Regions from separate parts of the Homo sapiens genome. Here region 2 is linked to region 1. Evidence: promoter capture Hi-C in human tissues and cell types (Jung and others, 2019). All regions are on one chromosome and are shown on one strand. Each heading gives the region's core, a stretch centred on a gene start or on the middle of the fragment in contact. The rest is flanking DNA. Distances are from core to core; before and after follow the strand shown.

Region 1 (4,392 bases), core at 536-3,035:
GGTAGCAGTTCCCTCCTTCCTGGGGAAGGTGGCCATATATATATAAACCCGGGTAGCCCTGGGCCTGCTATGGTCAGCTGTCCTAACTGTTGTTTCTGCCCAGCCCTCAACAACAACAACAACAGCGGGTGGAATGTAAATGCAAAATCTTTTCATTTCCCATCAATAACTGGACCTAAACCAGCCATTAGAAAGCAGATGGTATCCCTGGCCCTTAATATCCAAGTCACCACAATTTCCTGGCCCCACCCTCAGCACTACTTTCCTCTCATTTCTTTCGTTTTCCTGTAAAACCAACTTTAAAAAAAAATGTGAAAATTGGATAACCTCTCCATAGGAGAACAAAATGTATCTTAAAAGCTAACCTCTTTTCTTTAACCATCCTAACAATTCAATTTTTGTTCACTGACACCTTAAGAATTGAGTGTCTGGCCTAAAAACAGTAAGTCTTAGCAAGTTACTAGTTTCTATTAAGAAAGAAAGTAATGAGCTTAGCTTCATCTTTTATAACACAACTGGAAGAAGCTAGGATGCCTTTGGAGACCCACAAAAACTGACAAGAGATTGTCCCATGCCCTCCAAAATTCAGAAATACTAAAACTGAGATTTGAGCCAACCTGATGGCCATGAGCTAAACAAAGCCACTCAAGCGCTGCTAAATACTTCATCAGGTTATTGTGTATCTCACTAATCCAGCCCTAGAAATGTTCCTCAATAATGTGCATAATGTAGGGCCTAGGGACCCCAAATCAGACAAAGAAAACCTCAAAATCGTGAAAGTCACACAAGTTTAGTTTTGCAAATCTGGCTATGGGACATCTGAAATTGTCCAGCATCATCATGGTATTTCAAATATAATAATTCTTAAATTTTGCTAAAAAATTTCATCAAAATTGTTATTCTTCACATTTTGTTTCTTAAAAGCAAATCATTAAAAATATTAAATGGGATATGATTTTTACAGCAGGGCAAAGTTGTGTGGATCCTCCACGTTGGCAAAGGTGGAAACACAGGTATGCGAGAAAACCCCGAGCATCCACGAGAACGGGATGCAGCCGCGCTCTGGACGCGCGGCGGGAGGACCCGGAGCCCAAGCTCCGGGGTCACCAGCCACGAGGCCCAGCGGCAACGTGGACCCCAGGGCGGCCGGAGCGCGCCTGGGGCTGGAGGGGAGGAAGAGGCGGCGGGAGCCGAGAGACTCGCGGCTCGGCCAGCCTCCCGCGCCTGGTGCAAATCACGCTGCAGAACTGGAACTAGTGCGACTTAGGGGGTGCACGCTTTTGACTTTGGATGCCGACGCGCGTGACAAAGCTCAGAACAAAAAGACAGGCCCCGCATCGCCTGAGACTGCAGGGCAGGGAATCCTCGCGAGGCCCCTCATCGCAGGGCAAGGGGGCCGCGCGCCCGGTCTTGGGGAGCGAGCCGAGGGGCCCAGGCAGCCGCGGGCTACTCGGTGCAGGAAGGTGCGGAGCCAGCCCCGAGCGCAGCCAGCGAAGGTTGCAGCCCCGGCGCAAGCCGCGGGGAGGCTCCGGGGACCGACGCGAGGTCTCGGCGCGCGGGGTACGGGCCCTGGGCAAAGGAGGGAGGAAGCGATGGACCGCGGTTCGGGCAGCCTGGGGCCGCGCGCCGCCCACTCACCTCTTTTCGAGGCTCCGGCCGCCACTCGGGGATCCGGGGCCCCGCTACGAGGCCGCCCGGGTCGCTCTCCCGCCGCCGCCGGCCTCGAGCTCCGGCCGGCTCCGCGCCGTGCGCCCAGCGCCTCCGCGTCCAGCGCCGCCGCGTCTCCGGCCTCCGCAGCGGCAAGGCCCCGCCCCCGAGCAGCGCCGGCGGCGCGAAGGGAGGAGGCGGCGCCGCGAGCGCGGAGAAGCGAGGCAGGGGCTGCCGGGGCCGCGCGGACTCCCGGCCCCACGGTGCGCGCGCCCCGGCCGGTGGCCGCCCCTCGGCGGGAGCAGGAACGCCAGCGTGCGCCCAGTTCTCGCCGCTGGGCGTTGCCCCTTCCCCCGGGCCACCCCATCGCCCCTTCCGACGCGGGAGCTGGCGCCTGAGCAGCGACGCGGAGCGGGGAAGCGGCTGTGGGGAAAGGGTACCTGGGGGGAGCCCCCATCCCACGTTCCGCCCCGAGGGAATGTTCCCGAACAGCCAACCGCACCCAGCGCCACACTCACGTTACCTTCTTTATAAAAGTCGTCGGGTCAAAACTGCCCAGAGAAGGAAGCGAACGAAAAACAGGTTTTTAGGGGGCTTATACTCACAAAATTGTCTTTTTTCTCCCACGAGGCATTCCCTGTTGACCATCATCTCGCCTCGGTTGTCACCGCTCAGGCCTTAGTGTTTGGTCTGTGACCCTTCCACTGCTAGCAACGGAAAAAGTGAAGATTCCCGGACGCCTTCGGGTGTGATCTTATAGCCCGGGCAGCTGCATTTGAAACAGCGCCTCAGATGACGCTCAGGCGCACTGATGTTTGAGAAGCCCTATGAGGCCGTACCTCCCGGAGAGAATGCCACAAAACTAGTGACCTACAGGGAAACCATGCTAGAAAATTCTAAAGCAATGGTTCTTAACTCTGGCAGCACCTGCCATCCATTAGAATTATTTGGGGAGCTTTTAGAGCATTTAGGAACCAGGGTCCCACTTCCAGAGTTCAAAGTGAACTTGATATTTTTTGTTTGTTTTGAGCTTCCCAGATAATCCTAATACAGTATACGGCCAAGATTGAGAACAGTTTTCCTAGAATCATGTCTTCATGTCTTCCTAGCTCTGGTGTCTGGGAAAGGAAACTCCTTCCTCTGCGCCTCTCTCAAATCACAATAAAAAAACAAGTAAATACATGAACACCTAAAGGAATGCTCACAGCTGAAATTGATTTTAACCAGAACAAAGAGTCACCTTAAAAAAGGTGATCAAGATACCCTATTGCTACCTGAGCATGGAGCTTCTTAACTGCAGGAAACGTATCTTTACCAGCTAAAACCTCTTAGCTGAATTAGAAGCTGACCATACATGACCCCTTTAGAGGAATGTTCTACTATATTCCAAAATGATATTTTTGTTATCTGCAACTGTTAAACTGTTGTAGGGTCAGACCAAAGCATTCAGAAGCTGAGGCTGTATCAGATGTCAGCCCTGGTTTTGCAGACTTAAGTTGTGTCACTTTGATCTTCTAGTGAGCTTAAATAACCATAATCGGGGACAGGTACAGGAAATTCCCTTTCTTGCCCATTTTAGCTCTCTTAGTATAGTTTACATTCTTAGACTGGTGGACTGTAACTTCTATATCATTTGGCTCTAAGGAGGGTCTCCATTAGTCTCTCATTTATCAGCAACTAATTAGCGACTCACTCAGTGATTCTTAAACACTTTATGGAACAGGTCCATATGTCTAGGTGCTAAGGCAGCTGGCTGAATGAGCTATATTTTAATTGAAGATGAATTAGTCCTTTTCGTTAGATTCTTTATGACAAAAGTTGAAAATTTTAAGATGCAGTTTTATATATATCTATATACATAATTTACATTCCTTATAAAAAAGCTAATCAGTTGCTGGCCCTGAAAATTCAATTGGATGGGTTTTGATTAAACAATGTGCAAGGGGCTACAGTGGTTGGTTGAAGGAAGCATCCATGTTTTGCCTGTTAAGCATCCTTTCCTTAATGTCTTAGTCCATTTTGTGTTGCTATAACACAATTCCACAGACTCAGTAATTTATAAAGAAAAGAAATGTATTTCTCATAGTTCTGAAGGCTAGGAAGTCTAATATCAAGGTGCTGGCATCTTGCAAGGGCCTTCTTGCTGCATCAGCCTGTGGTGGAAGGCAGAAGGGCAAGAGGGTGTATGTGAAATTGAACTTGCAGCCTCAAACCCTCTATAATTGGCATTAATTTATTTATAAGAGTGGAGCCTTTATGACCTAAACACCTCCCTTTGGGCCCCACCTCCCAACACTGTTGCACTGGAGATTCAGTTTTCAACACGTGCTTTATGGAGCACACATTCAAACCATAGCATTCTGCTTCTATGCCCCCCACCACCCCCAGTTCATATCCTTCTCACATACAAAATACATTTATTCCATCCCAACAGCCCTAAAGGCTTTAATATTTATTTATTTATTTATTTATTTTGAGACAGGGTTTCACTCTGTCCCCCCGGCAGAAGTGCAGTGGTGTGATCATGGCTCACTACAGCCTCAACCTCCTGGGCTCAGGTGATTCTCCCACCTCAGCCTCCTGAGTAACTGGGACTACAGGTGTATGCCATCATGCTCAGCTAATTTTTTTGGTATTTTTTGTAGAGATGAGGTTTTGACATGTGGCCCAGGCTGGTCTCAAACTCCTGGGCTCAAGCAATCCACCTGCCTCAGCCTTCGAGAGTGGTGGGACTACAGTCATGAG
Region 2 (4,392 bases), core at 503-3,002, 52 kb after region 1:
TGAATGGAGCTGTTTGGGTGACTTGGAAGTTACTATGATCAGTTGGGGCTTGAAGTTGTGGGGTGTAATTACACTGATGGGGTAGTAGGTGCCCCAGGGGCAGGCCTGATAACAGGTTGCATTGGATGCATAAAAGGGCTTGGAAAGTTAAGATAGTATTCATAGTTACAGGGCCGTGTATGGGCTTTTCATTGCTTGTGTAATAAGTGAGGTTGGAAATGTAAGAAAGCAAAAGTTGGATTGCACATCCTGTTAGGGTATTCTTGGTCCTATCAGAGATGGGGAAGTCAGCTAATGATTGCATATTTAGAAGTCAGAAATGGTCTTTTCCTTCATAATGAGGGTGGTAGATTAAGTTGGTAAAGACCCAGTTTTTTGCGGGAATGGGAATGGCAATGTAAGCGGAGGTTGATAGAAAGATACAAAGCCAGCAGTCATTTTCCAGGGAAGGATTGGACTGGTTTAACAGAGAGTGGGTTAAGTTGAGAGTCTTGTAGAGGTAATTAGGAGCTAGTGGAAGGGGAGGGGTGATTGCATGAGGTATCCAAGGAAGCAGAAGGGAAAGATAGGCAAAGCATAAATAGGAAGGTCAAGAGGGTGCTCTGGAAGACGAGATCATTTTATCCAGGCTGAGTTAAAGCTAGGAGTAAATTGCTGTCAGAAGGAAGGAAGATAGAGAGAAGGTTGATGTGATTAAGATTTTCATCCCAGCAGGAGCTACAGTATATAGCCCTATTGCAAAGAGTATGGTTAGTATGCTGCTTAATAATATGATGAAATAATAAAAGGATTCCATTAAAGGGGTAAGGAGAGGTGTTAAAGATAAAGATTATGTAGGTCTTCATTTATCTTTTTAAGGAGGAAGGGGTTTTTCTTCAGGATCAATGGTAGGAGCCTTTTAAGTCTGGGTTATTTCCTTCCAAAATAGGAGATGCAATCCTCCAATGGTTCAAAGGTGTATGGAGGCTTGTCTGGCTGATCTTGGGACTCCTGAGCTGATGGTCCTGCAGGTTCCTCAGGGGATGTCCAGAACTTAACTCGGGTGTGATGAATCCAAGATTCCACTCCTGCCACCTTAACTGCAGTGGGGGTAGAGAGGATTACCGAGTATGATCCTTTCCACAAAGAGTCCGTAGGTGGGGAGGTAGAGGGGAGAGATTTGACTAACACTAGATCTCCTGATTGAAACAACTCTGTTCCCTTTTCTCTGTGACATCCTTCAGGTAGTTTTTTAAGGTTTTGTTGATATTTTGCCAAAGAAGTTATATCTTTGACCAAGTTGGCTGTTTCCTGATCAAGTATGAGGTCATTTGTGAGCAAATGTCATCCATACAGCATTTCATATGGACTGAATCCCATTTTGTGAGGAGAATTTTGGATTCTCAAGAAGGCCATGGGCAAAAGAGTAGGCCATGGGAGATGAGTTTCTTGTGTTCATTTCCTTAAGTGCCTCTTGAGTGTTTCATTTGCCTGCTCGACCTTCCCTGAGGATTGTGGCCTCAGGGTGCAGTGAAGGTGATATTGTATCCCTAACACCCTGGAAATTCCCTGAGTTTTCGTGGCTTTAAAAGCCGGACCATTGTCACTCTGTAAGCTTTGGGGAAGCCCAGATCTAGGAATTATTTCATGAATTAGGACTTTAATCGCTTCCTGAGCCTTCTCTGTCTTGCAGGGGAAAGCTTCTATCCAATTTGTAAAGGTATCAATACAGACCACCAAGTATTGAAATCCCTTTGACTTAGGCAGATGGGTGAAGTCTAACTGCCAGTCCTCTCCAGGATAGTGATCTATTCTTTGTTCCCCCAAAGGAGCCTTATGATGGACCAAGGGATTATTCCTTTGGCACACCTCACAGGCTTTGACTACCTGTCGGATGGTCCAGAGGAGATTTGGCCCTGTAAATAGGGATTTGGCCATTTGAAGAGTGTTTTCAATACCCATATGAAAAGTTTGGTGGAGGGTTTTAAGTATTTTCCACTGGTTGGCTTCAGGCATAAGTACCTTTCCTTCTTCTGTTGTTAACCACCCGGAGGGGAGAAAACTATACCCCCGTGAAAGTCCCCATTCTGTTTCAGTTGGGGAATACTTGGAGGGGGTTGTTCCTATCAAAGGTCCTTCCATAGCTATTTCTAATGGGAGGTTCTGCCTGGCAGCAATTTTGGCCTCAGCATCTGCCCAACAGTTTCCTTCTGCCTTTTCTCCTTCACCTTTCTGATGACTTCGGCAGTGTAAGACTGCCACCTCCTTGGGTTTATGCACTGCATGCAATAACTCCATAATTTCCTTGTGGTATTTAATGGGGGCTCCCCCAGAGGTTAGGAACTCCCTTTCTTTCCATATTGCACCATGGGCATGTAGGATCAGATAAGCATACTTGCTATCTGTATACACATTTATTCTTTTTCCTTTTCCTAGTTCTAAGGCTTGGGTAAGTGCTGCTAGTTCTGCTAAGTGGGCGCTGGTCCCTGGGGGAAGAGGCTTACTTTCAAGTATGGTTACATCACTAACTATGGTGTAACCTGCCCTTCGTATCCCATTCTCCGCATATTAACTTCCATTGGTATATAGGTTAAGGTCAGAATTAGCTAAGGGGACTTCTAAGAGATCATCTTGGGTGGCATAACTCTGGACTATAATTTGTTGGCAGTCATGCTCAACTGGTTCCCCATCTTCTGGGATAAAAGTGGCAGGATTGAGGGCCATGCACATAAGCATTTGAAGCACCAGTCCCTCAAGGAGTAGCGCCTGGTATCTAAGTAGGTGGTTATCTGATAGCCATAAACTTCCTTTGGCACCTAGTATGCCATTTACATCATGAGTAGTCCAGACAGTGAGATCCTTTCCTTGTATTATTTTGATACCCTCTGACACTAAGATGGCCACTGCTGCAACTACCCTTAAACAGTGAGGCCAGACTTTCACTACTACATCAATTTCCTTACTTAGGTATGCCACTGGTTGTGGGGTTGTCCCACGAGTCTGAGTAAGGACTCCAAGAGCTATCCCTGCTCTCTCTGTGATGTATAAACAGAAGTTTTGTCCTGTGGGAAGGCTTAAAGCTGGAGCTTGTACTAGGGCCTGCTTTAAGGTTTTGAAGGCTGTTACTGCCCCTGGCTCCCATTCTACTAGATGAGTATTTGCCCTCTGGGTCTCCTTGATTATAGAGGGGCCTGGCTATCTTGCTGTATCCGGGGATCCCATAGTTGGCAAAAGCCAGTGATTCCAAGGAACCCCCACAAATGTTTTAATGTCTTAGGGTGAGGATAAGCCAGTATAGGCTGTATTCATTCCTTGCTGTGGGCTCTGGTCCCTCTAGCTAAGATTAGGCCTAGATATTTGACCCGTTGTAGGCAAAGCTGAGCCTTCGACCTAGATGCCTTTTACCCTTGATTAGCTAGAAAGTCCAAGAGATCTAGAGTAGCCTGCTGGCATGACACTTCTGAACTGGTAGCCAAAAGCAAATCATCCACATACTGAAGGACCAGAATGCCTGGATTTGAGAAGTGGCCTAGATCTTGGGCCAGTGCCTGACCAAACAGGTGAGGGCTATCCCTAAACCCTTGGGCAAGACCATCCACGTAAGTTGGGATGTGTGGTCTGTGGGATCCTCAAAGGCAAAGAGAAACTGGGAGTCAGAGTGCAGGGGAATATGGAAGAAAGCATCCTTGAGGTCCAGAACAGTGAACCATTCTGCTTCCTCTGGTATTTGAGAGAGCAGTGTATAGGGGATGGGTACAACTGGATATAGAGGAATTACTGCCTCATTGGTGAGTCTAAGATCTTGCACTAGTCTCCACTGGCTGTTCTGTTTTTGTACTCCTAGAATTGGGGTGTTGCAGGGACTGCTGCATTTCCTTACTAAGCCTTGAGCTTTTATATGTTTAATATCCTGTAATCCTTTATGAGCTTCAGGCCTTAAGGGATATTGCCTTTGATAAGGAAAAGTGGTGGGATCTTTTAGCCTGATTTGGACTGGGTGGGCATTTTTTGCCCTTCCAAATTGTCCTTCCAATGCCAAGACTTCAGGGTTGATTCCCTCCTCAAGTAGGGGACAATGAATGGGTGATTTGTTCCCCATATTCATGTAGATAATAGCTCCAGCTTTGGCTAATATATCCCTCCCTAATAAGGATGTGGGACTTTCAGGCATAACAAGAAAGGCATGTGAAAAGAGTAAAGTCTCCCAGTTACAACTGAGGAGGTGGGAGAAATACCTGGTTACAGGCTGTCCCAGGATTCCTCGGATGGTAGTGGACCTTGAGGACCGTCGTCTGGGACAGGAGATTAACACTGAGAAGGCTGCACCAGTGTCCAGGAGGAAGTCAATTTCCTGGCCCTCAATGGTTAAACATACTCGGTGCTCAGTGAGGGTGATGACATGAGCTGGCACTT

Evidence for each region. The method cuts DNA at HindIII sites, captures the fragments that hold promoters and counts their contacts. A contact is called where the count stands out against the background at its distance.
Region 2: a contact is called between a fragment that was not itself captured here and the fragment with the promoter of GOLM1 in region 1, in 1 of the 25 tissues and cell types used here (H1 embryonic stem cells).

Annotation. Positions count from the first base shown.
Region 1 is chr9:86,097,773-86,102,164 of GRCh38, forward strand. It overlaps GOLM1 (golgi membrane protein 1), which reads right to left and starts at 1,786. Exons shown (of 10, transcript NM_016548.4): 1 at 1,639-1,786. RefSeq lists an enhancer at 1,227-1,727 and silencers at 1,358-1,407, 1,568-1,667, 1,678-1,997. The HindIII fragment of the contact is 18,007 bases long and covers 1-4,392 here.
Region 2 is chr9:86,149,703-86,154,094 of GRCh38, forward strand. The region is part of intron 4 of LOC101927623 (a long non-coding RNA gene); the gene reads left to right. Among named protein-coding and RNA genes, the nearest start is that of GOLM1, 52 kb to the left of the region's middle. The HindIII fragment of the contact is 3,790 bases long and covers 1-3,647 here.